Regions from separate parts of the Homo sapiens genome. Here region 1 is linked to region 2. The links are contacts of gene promoters, found by promoter capture Hi-C in human tissues and cell types (Jung and others, 2019). All regions are on one chromosome and are shown on one strand. Each heading gives the region's core, a stretch centred on a gene start or on the middle of the fragment in contact. The rest is flanking DNA. Distances are from core to core; before and after follow the strand shown. Region 1 overlaps PARPBP (PARP1 binding protein). Region 2 holds the start of PMCH (pro-melanin concentrating hormone).

Region 1 (5,670 bases), core at 1,534-4,033, 37 kb before region 2:
CGCCTGTAGTCCCAGCTACTCTGGAGGCTGAGGCAGGAGAATGGCGTGAACCTGGGAGGCGGGAGCTTGCAGTGAGCCGAGATGGTGCCACTGCACTCCAGCCTGGGAGGGAGTGCGAGACTCCATCTCAAAAAAAAAAAAAAAAAAAAAAAGAATAGTGAGCTTCTAATTCTGTTATGTCTTTACATTAATTACTTGCCATTTCTCAATAAAGCTTTATCTTATCAAATGAGATGAAGTACCCTTCTCTAAAAATCTCAGGGTAACTCCTCAATTCTCTACCAATTTAGGGGTTAGTGTAATAGTTATATATAATATAAGCAAATTAGATATTTATTCTTTTATTGCTCTCCTTTTTGTGTGTCTATTGTTTGGATTCATGAATTTATATTTATTCACTGTTTTAAAATGAGTTACACTCATTAATCTTTGATGCTAAAATAGAGGAAGCTGCTTCAAGCAGGTTTTTGTGTCTTTTTTACATGCTCTAGTAGACTTTTCAAGCATTTTCCTCTTTTCTGGTACAAGAAAATATCCCAAGCCCACCTTGAATGTTTCCTGCCCAGACCTGGTTCCTTTTAGAGATTTGTAACTATTTTCTCTTGCTTGAAATTAATTTTTCACTTACATTTCCTTTCTTTTCCCTTGATGCTCCAAATCTTGACAAAGTGATTGCCAAATTGCCTGATCTTTTCTCGGTGGCGCTTAAGCAGTGTATTTGTGTATCAAAAGGGTAGATTACTTAAAGATCTCTTTTATCTATCCTGTATGTACTACAGGGAGGAAATTATAATTGTTATATTTGTATTTTTAAAGAGGAATGAACCAATTTGTATATGTGAAAAGAATTAAGCTTTTAGAACTTCGGCTTATAAAGTTTAAAGGAGTATCTGTGACTAAAGATTATAAGCATGTAGTTTCCTGATTTAAACAACACTGATAGTTTCATTGTGTTAATTCTCTAATTTCTAACTTTTGCTTTCTTGGATTATATTTTCTAATAGAATTTTACCTACTAGTTCAACTAATGGATTTGATTTTCTGAGGAGTATTAAATTGGCAGCCATCTTCCTAACCATGCTTCTGTTACTTGCAGTTTCTAATTTTTCTTTTTACAAGGTCTTTTTGGAAGTCAGTGTATTTCTTTTTTCCCCTCTGAGACGGAGTTTCACTCTGTCACCCAGGCTGGAGTGCAGTGGTGTGATCTCAGCTCACTGCAACCTCCGCCTCCTGGGTTCAAGCAATTCTCCTGCCTTAGCCTCCTGAGCAGCTGGGATTACAGGCCGTGCCACCACGCCTGGCTAATTTTGTATTTTTAGTAGAGACAGGGTTTCACCATGTTGGCCAGGCTGGTCTTGAACTCCTGATCTCGTGATCCACCCACCTCGGCCTCCCAAAGTGCTGGAATTACAGGCGTGAGCCACCGCACCCAGCTGGAAGTCAATGTAGCTCTAATTAAAATCCTAATGTGAATTTTTGGGCTTCAGTCTTGCAGAGAAATATTTTGACCATCAAATGTGTTTACTAATATGACACCAGTCTTCAAGTAGGTGAATGGATTGAATTTGAGAAACAATATTTTTGTTTCCTTATTTTATTTTACTTCATTTTATTTTTCCTAAGGTACTAAACCATTGCTTTTAAAATTCTGAAGTAATGAAGGGAATAATAGAATAAAGGCCAGAAAAAGAAAATCATCAGTTAAAAAAAAAAATCTACTAAGTATCTTAGTTTTTGTCCAACTTTTTTTTTGTCAGTATATATAAGCATTTATGCATTGGCAAACAAAAGTTAAAAAAAGACCCTGTATAAATTGTTAATCTTCTCAGCTTAGAAAAACTGACTTTCTTCAAACTGAGGTTGAATATCTGCCTCTCAGTAAGAAGAGATAGGAAAAGAAACTTGGAATTATCAGAAAGCTTAAATAAAATTGTCCAGCTTCTAAACAAACATTGCAAATACTTTGTGGTATGGATATAATCAGTTTATTAAACAAATAAACAGAACAGTATCCTTATTTTTGGTGTTTTGGTAAAGGCTTCAATCTTGTGGATGTTTTCAATTTAGGCCCTTGCTCTTGGACATCATAACTATACTTATGTGGACTGCTTTTCCAGGGAACCTCTTTAAAACTCACTTGTAAATACAAGAGCAAGGAAACCATAACAGCCATGTTATCTGACCATAATAAGAGGGATAGATTTCCAATTGCAGCCATGAGCTAAAAGAAACACTCTAACTGTGAGGACTCCAAGATGTTTTTCCCTGAAGTTTGCCCAACATCACAGATCAGAAGGACAAAATTTGCTAACCTTAAAGAGCAAGTTGTAGATGTGAGAGCTTAAGCCCTGGTTTTGTACCCAATTAGGATCAGGTATATACATATTTGTTAAGTTCTTGTTATTTTTGAACAGCAGAAGCACAGTGACATAGAGATTGCATTAAGTTAAATGTAGGAAAAGTTTCTGATTACAATGTGAATGTCACTTTTTCTCTGCTTTGATTTTCGGTAAATTGTGTTATTCTTCTCAGATGTCAAAGGAATACAAAGAATTGTGTCTTAGACTATTGCACTGTGAAGTTAAAATGGAAACTCATATTATAGACTTGTGTAATAGAAGTATTGTGATTTACTGTGAAAGTAAAGATAAAAGGACATTTGAAATATGAGCAGAGGCTGGGCATGGTGGTTAACGCCTGTAATCCCAGCACTTTGGGAGGCTGAGGCAGGCAGATCACCTGAGGTTAGGAGTTTGACACCAGCCTGACCAACATGGAGAAATCCCGTCTCTACTAAAAATACAAAATTAGCCAGGCGTGGCGGCACATGCCTGTAATCTCAGCTACTTGGGAGGCTGAGGCAGGAGAATCACTTGAACTTGGGAGGCTGAGGTTGTGGTGAGCCGAGATCGTGTCATTGCACTCCAGCCTGGGCAACAAGAGGGAAACATCATCTCAAAAAAAAAAAATATATATATAATCAGAAAACTATATTATACATTATTTTATAAAATTTTAGGAGAAGCCTTAAAGCTTATTTTTATTTGGTTGTGACTTAGAATACCTTTCTTTGTAAGGCACCATAATAAAAAATATGGCATTTATTTTATCCCAGGTAAGTTTTTTTTTCTTTGGAGACAGTCTCATTCTGTCGCTCAGGCTGGAGTGCAGTAGCATTATCTTGGCTCACTGCAATCTACACCTCCCAGGTTCAAGTGATTCTTGTGCCACAGCCTCCCGAGTAGCTGGGATTACAGGTGTGTGCCACCACGTCCAGCTAATTTTTTTGTATTTTTAGTAGAGACAGGGTTTCGCTGTGTTGGCCAGGCTGGTCTTGAACTCTTGGTCTCAAGTGACCCACCTGCCTTGGCCTCCTAGTGGTGGGATTACAGGTGTGAGCCACCACACCCAGCCTCAGGTAAGTTTTTCTTAATAGATTTTTAATTTTGAAATTTTTAAAGAGTCAAATTTATGTATTAATTTTTCTTTCATTCATCATTGAATGAAAACTCATTGAGAACCTATTGACAAAAACAGATTGATTACCTACTATAATGCGAGTCATTCTGTTAGGATCTAAGGACAGATGATTTGCTCTCATGGAACTCACAAAGTAATAGGAGGATTAAGAAACGTTATCAGAAAGTGGCTAGGCATGGTGGCTCATGCCTGTAATCCCAGCACTTTGGGAGGTCAAGGCAGGAGGATCACTTGAGCCCAGGAGTTCAAGATTAGGCTGGGCAACATAGTGAAATATTGTATCCTTAAAAAAATATTAAAAAGAAAAGTATGCAGAGAATTATAATAGGGTGATATGCAGAGTTATCACAGGATGGCAGGAAAGAGAATACATGAATGTCTACTTTAGACTGGGGAATCAGGGAGCATCTCTGAAAAGGTAACATTTACTTAATATGCAAGAAAAAATCTTTCTCATGGTTAATCTTTAAACTTTGTTTTCTTGTAATTAATTTTGCTTAAATTCTATCTCGAGTCCATATTTAAGGCAATGCTTTCCTGTCCAGTGAAGTTTTTCTTTTAAATTGACCCTGCCTGCCTCCTACTTTTTAATAATTGTTTTTTGCATGGGAACTTAAACAGTCAAAATATATTATCTTTTGAATTTATTTTAAGGTGTATATGCTTAACAACTATCTAAGAGGCTTGCTAAGGATTTGTAATTTTTTATTGCTGCCTTTTTTAGTTTCTTTTATGCTTCAAAAATTTAACATGTGATTAGATTGAATATGATGAAATTTTAGTTTTAATAAGGGAAATATTTTCTTAGCATTTACAGATGATAAATTCCGGGGATATTAGTTGTGACTGAAATTACTGAAGGATTTTTGAATTTCATGTGTTTTGAGTGGGAATCGAGTTTAGAATTCGTGAGTCTGTTATCTGAGGGAATAGGCAAGAATATGATTTCAAGTGGACAGTTTGGGAACAATAAGAATTAGAAACAGGATTCTAGAGCAGAAGGTGGGATCGAAGTAGTTGAGAAGGCAAAAATAGGAAGAAAATTCCATGCAAGGAATTTAATTTTGCGCTGCTCATGGTGGCTCACACCTGTATTCCCAGCACTTTTGGAGGTCAAGGCAGAAGGATCACTGGAGCCCAGGAGTTCAACACCAACCTGGGCAACATAGTGGGACCTTTTCTCTACAAAAAATAAAAACGTTTTGCTGCTTGTGGTGGCACATGCCTGTAATCCTAGCTACCGGGGAAGCTGAGGCAGAAGGATCACTTAAGCCTGGGAGGTTGAGGTTACAGTGTGCCCTGATTGTGCCACTGCACTCCAGCCTAACAGCAAGACCCTGTTTCTCAAAAAAAGAAAAAAAAAAAAGGAATTTGATTTTGATGAAATGAAATTTATCTTTTTATTTTTCCTTTTCTCATTGTGCTTCTGGTGTCTTATGTAAGAACTCTTTGCCTTATTCCAGGTCATGAAGATTTTCTATTATGTTTTCTTTTAAAAGTTTAATAGTTTATGTTGTACATTTATAGACTTATGATCCACTTTGAGTTTACTTTTATAAAAGGTGTGAAGTTTAAGTTGAAGTTCATGTGTTTTGCATATGGATGACCAATTGCTCCAACACCAATTATTGAAAAGACTGTCTTTTCTTCATTGTTCCTTTTGCACATTTGTGAAAAATCAGATTGCTATATTTGTGTTGGTCTATTTCTGCACGCTATTCTGTTCCATTGAGCTGAGTGTTCTTTTGTAAATACTACTCTATCTTAATTATTGTAATCGTATAGTAATTTAGATTGTTTCTCAGCATTTTTAATATACTGTTCCAATATCATCTGGCCTACATACTTCTGGATGATTTGTTAACCTTATTATTGTTCCTCTGTAGGTAATGTGTCATTTTGTTCTGGCTGCACTCAAGATTTTCTCTTACTTTTGGCTGTCAGAGTTTATATTCATTTTGTTTGGTTTTCCTACTTAAATAGCTTATTGGATCTATAAGTTAATGTTTTCTACTAAATTTGGGATGCTTTGGGACAAAATGTATTCATGTATTTTTTCTACTCTTTTCACTTCTCTTCAGGGATTCCAATTACGTGTATGTTTGACCTCTTAAATTGTCTCATTAATCCCTTTGATTCTTTCATCTTTTTTGTTGTTGTTGTTCTCCTTTGTTTTTCAGATTTGATAAT
Region 2 (5,195 bases), core at 1,182-3,681:
GCATCAAAGCCTTTGTGTGTTCTTTACATGGAAAATGACCTTTCTGGTAATTGACCTTATTTGTGCAATTAAATAACAATTTAATTCTAGTCTACTAATTAGTTTTAACTTAAGTAAAATTAGGTTATTTTTGCAAAGTACTATGAAATGTAAAGGGTAATATTTTTAAAGACCTCAGTTTATTTAAAAAGTTAAATCTAAGTACAAATTTATCGATAGGAATAGGACACAGTTTGATTTAACTAAATGTATTTAAGAAGTAATTTGTAGCATATGTTTAAGGATTAAATGTCATGCATTCAAACAAATATTTCTTAATAGGGCTGACAAGTTGATTACTGGCCAAAGCTAACTCAGAGGTGCTATGATAAAATGAAAAGTAATAGGATAGTAATGTAGCTATATTTGTCAATCATATTATTTATAGCATTATTTTACTTTAAAAATTTGAATATTCGTTAGCCATTTTTAAAGTTTATTGTAAAGTTCTCGTAAATATTAATACTCAATATCATGTAATTCCTTTCCCCTTTTTATCTTGCATAACAGAGGGTGTAAATCCATCTGTTGGAAGATCAACAATTGGAACGAGTTTTGGAAATGTTCATCTGGACAGAAGTAAAAATGAAAAAGTATCAAGAAAATCAACCAGTCAGACAGGAAATAAAAGCTCAAAAAGGAAACAGGTGGATTTGGATGGTGAAAATATTCTCTGTGATAATAGAAATGAACCACCTCAACATAAAAATGCTAAAATACCTAAGAAATCAAATGATTCACAGAATAGATTGTACGGCAAACTAGCTAAAGTAGCAAAAAGTAATAAATGTACTGCCAAGGACAAGTTGATTTCTGGCCAGGCAAAGTTAACTCAGTTTTTTAGACTATAAATTTGTGTCTTATATGCTTTAGGTTTATGTATCTATAAACCATTCACCAAAGACATGCTTAATTTTTAAGAGATCAAGGTGTAAATTATGATGATTTATTATTTTGGTCTACAGTGTATGTAAGGTTAGTATGTTAAGCATTGTTTAAAAATACTAGTAAGTCATAATTATGCAGAATTTTCACAAAGTTTAATGCACAGAGAAAGCATATCATTTCAGTTACTGATACATCTTAACACTACTTTCTTTTAAAACAGACATTTAACATACACAAGTTATAGTAGCAGTATGGGCTTCTCCTCCCATTGGCAATTAAATGCTTTTATTTTCTTCTGAAAAGATGATGTGGACCAACAGGTATCAGACTTGCCAACAAGGTCGGTAGACTCTTCCCAGCATACATCTGAGCACTGAAGGAAGAAGAAAGTTTAAATTGTTTAAAGGACTATAATTATCACACAAAATTTATTAAGAAAAAAAGAATGGATCTAGTATAACTAATTCTGAGTAAACCAAAATGATAATAATTAATTGTTGCTATTTAATCCCACATTTTTGGCAGGTGTAATTGAGCCATGGTCTTATTTGATTTTGTTATGATTGCATCCAAATTCACTTTAACTCAGAGTTCTGTTTAATGGTGGTAGGATGTAAGAATTGAATTTTGAAAAGACTACTCACTGTCAAAATCTCTCCTTCCTATAGGAAATTTAGCTGAGTTTTCTTCATCCCCAATTTCTCTCTTTTCTTGTGTTGATTCAGTATTCTGAACTCCATTCTCAGCTGGGAAAGCTACAGATCCTTTTAGTGCAAGATAAGGTTTTATAGCCAGATTCAGTGGCAGACCATGATTTAAGAAATTATGTTTGGAGCCTGTGTTCTGTAAAGAGAAGGTTGATTTGGTTTTTAGCTATCGTATTCGGAGTGGAACTATAATACAATTGTATAATATTCTTGTTGATCAATTCAAAGTTACTCTGCACTGTTTTTGACTTTTTAAAAATACCTTAGATGCAAATTTATAGGAGAAAAAACACTTTCAGATAAGAGGTGTTTGCTGGGATGGAAGAACTACCTGGCATGTAAGAAATATCGTCAGTCGTCCTAATGCATATTGTGACTGTTTGCATATACTTCTGTTTATAAAAGTATCAGTTTTACTTTTCAGAGGATTTGTAAGAATCATTTAAATTTTCATTGAAATAAACGACAAGTCACATTGCCACTTACCTTTGAAACTTTATTTTCCTCTTCGTTCATGAAACTGCTCTCATCATTTTTATATTGTTCCAGGGAAGGAGCAATAACTGATTTTTCTGCAGTGTCTTCCTTCTGAAAGCCTTTCCCCAACCTGAATGTATTAAATACCATGTCATCATCTAAATTTCTTATGGACTTGGATGCTGAAAGTAAAATACCTTGAGAAAACAAAGAAAAAGTTAGTATTAATATATAGGAAGAGAGATTCATTTTTGCCATTCTTAGTTTGATGTTTGCATACAGTCAAACAAGAAAGAAAATGAAAAATTTCTCTGTCAGCCTGCTTGGTAAACGATTCTGTATCTTTATATATTTTCTAGCTTGAATAGAAAGCACTTCAAAGAATTATACTTTTCATCATTTTAGAAATGACTCATTAGATTGAGGCTAACCTTTATGCAGCTGCTAATACCTACATTGTTTTGGTTTTAGTGACACATTGTTTATTTTGAGTGTGAATTTTCTCAGAATCTGACTAAGATCCTTGGTAGAATGCTTTCTGTTGAGTAGATTATAGTCTCTTGAAAATGGGTTGTTATTAAGGAAGACCACAGGACATCAGGCTCTCTCTATATTATTGTTTCCTTTTGTGTATTTTCTGATTAAGTAAAGATATTAAAACTCAAGTTATTTCACTCAAGGATGATAAGGATAAAGTTTTATTTCCTTTTAATCCTGATTAAACTGAAATAATCCTCAAAAGAGACTTTCTTTTATAAATACTTGATATAGTTTTTGGTGATTAAAGTACATATGCCTGTCAGTGTGAACAAAAAGCCATTCATGCTATATCAAAAATTGACCTGTCAGGTGTATTTTATCTCTGCATTTACAAAAGGATAATATGTACAAATATTTATTAATGAATTTAGAAATTAATGAATTAGTCCATGAAAAGAATATTTATGTGCCCATAAACATTACTTTTGGATGATGAGTTTATGTTGTATGACTTTTAATTAAACATTTCAGAGTTAATTTCTAATTTTGACCCCAATGAATAAGATAATACATTCTTTTATATGTCTTCTGGTACATATATGTAAGAATTTTTCTAGAGTATATTTCTCAGTATGGAATTACTGGATCATGGAGTATGTATATGTTCAGCTTTACTAATGCCAAAATGTTTTCCAACATAGTTGTAAGCGATTTGTGCCCTCGATAAGCAGGGTATGAGAATTTCCATTGTTCCATGTCCTAGCTGACTCTTGTGTCTCATTGTCCTTTTAATTTGTATTTTCCTAATTACCAAAGAGGTTAAGTGTCTTCCCATATGTTTCTGAGCCATTTATGTTTCCTCTTATGTTAAATGCTTTTTTTTTTTTTCTTTTTTGGCTTTGTCCATTTTTCTATTGGGTTGTCTTTTTCTAATTTATTTATGGGAGTTCTTTATATATTCTGGATATTAATTGTTAGTTATATATGTTTCAATTATTTTCGCTCAGTTTGTGACATATTTTCAACCCCTCTGGTGTCTTTTGGTGAACCAAACTGATTAATTTTAATGTTTAAATATTTTTCTTTTTTCTTTATGGCAACTACTTTTAATGTGTTGTTTTTTTTTAGAAATCCTTCTCAATCCTTAGATTATTAACGTGTTTTCATATATTTTCTTCTAAAAGTTTAAATATTTTGACTTTCATGTTTAGGTTTGTAATTCATCTGTAATTTTGTGTATGATATAAGATAGAGATGTAATTTTACTTTTTCCAATGTCCTTATATATTTCTTGAAGAAGTCATCCTGTCCCCACTAATCTGCAGTGCCATCTCTACAGTATATCAGATTTCTATATATGTGTGGGCTCCTTTCAGAACGTTCTATTCCACAGCCAAATCTACAGTATTAATATAACTTTAAAATAATTTTTAATATCTGGTCAAATTTCCCAGCCCTCTACTTACCCACATGTTTTTCTTTTACAGCAGTTCCTTAGCTATTCTTAGTCATTTCTTTTCCATATAAATCTTAAAATCAGCTTTTCAAGTTCCGTAAGAACACTTGACAGGATATTAAGGTTCTAGTTAGGTATCCCTTATCTGAAATGCTTAGGACCAGAAGTATTTTTGGATTTGGGATATTTTTTTCAGAATTTGGAACATTTGCATTATATCAGTTAAGTATCCCAAAATCTGAAATCTGAAATGCTTCAATGAATATATATTTTTTAGCATATTGTTAATGCTTAACAAGTTTCAGATTTTGGAGCATTTTTGGATTTTGGCTTTTCAGATTTGGGATGCTCAACTTATAATCACATTGGTTTTATAGATTTATAGATTAATTTTGGAGAAGAACTGATATCCTGAAGGTAATTTATTATCTATGAGCATGACATTTTTCTGTATTTGCTTAGATCTTCTTTAATCTTTTTTTCTTCTTTAATCTTTTAATGACATTTTCTTTTCTTCATAAAGGTCTTGCATACCTTTGTTGAGAGAATTATAATTCTTTATAATTTAATTGAATTTCTTATTTTTGGTTATTATAAATTGTATTTTGAAATGATCTTTCTAACATTATTGCTGGTATGTGCATGTGCATTTGGCTTGTGCATAGTAATTTGATAACAGAAAAAAACTTTCTAAACTCTTATTTTTTTTTCTTTTTAATTGTTTATAAATGTATAGATTCTTTGGGATTTTGTATGAAGACAATTGATATAAATGATAAAATAATGGCATTTTATCTCTTTCTCCTAACTTCATCTATATTGTGTATACATGTCTTTGTGTCTGTTCATGTGTTCATACACACTGGCCAAAGCCTCCAGTAAATACTGAAAATGGAGAGAAGAGATATCTTTACAGTGTTACTGATTTTACAGATAATGATTTTAATGCTTCACCACTGAGCGTAATGTTTGCTGTAGGTTTCTTATAGATACTTGCTATAAAGTACAGGATGTTCTCTTTTGTTTCTGGCTTACTAATAGTTTTTATCATGAATTGTTGTTGAATATTATTGAATGCTTTTTTTGCATATATTGAGATGACCAGATCATTTTCTCCTTCAGTCTTTGGAAATATTAACAGATTTTTC

What was found. The method cuts DNA at HindIII sites, captures the fragments that hold promoters and counts their contacts. A contact is called where the count stands out against the background at its distance.
Region 1: a fragment that was not itself captured here is called in contact with the fragment with the promoter of PMCH in region 2 in 1 of the 25 tissues and cell types used here (hippocampus).

The regions. Positions count from the first base shown.
Region 1 is chr12:102,157,992-102,163,661 of GRCh38, forward strand. The region is part of intron 4 of PARPBP (PARP1 binding protein); the gene reads left to right. Among named protein-coding and RNA genes, the nearest start is that of PMCH, 37 kb to the right of the region's middle. The HindIII fragment of the contact is 4,500 bases long and covers 534-5,033 here.
Region 2 is chr12:102,195,402-102,200,596 of GRCh38, forward strand. PMCH (pro-melanin concentrating hormone) reads right to left here and starts at 2,432. Exons shown (of 3, transcript NM_002674.4): 1 at 2,121-2,432; 2 at 1,572-1,770; 3 at 1,058-1,300. The coding sequence starts at 2,369. The coding sequence ends at 1,251. PARPBP (PARP1 binding protein) reads left to right here. Exons shown (of 11, transcript NM_017915.5): 10 at 1-46; 11 at 550-2,119. The coding sequence ends at 890. The HindIII fragment of the contact is 16,025 bases long and covers 1-5,195 here.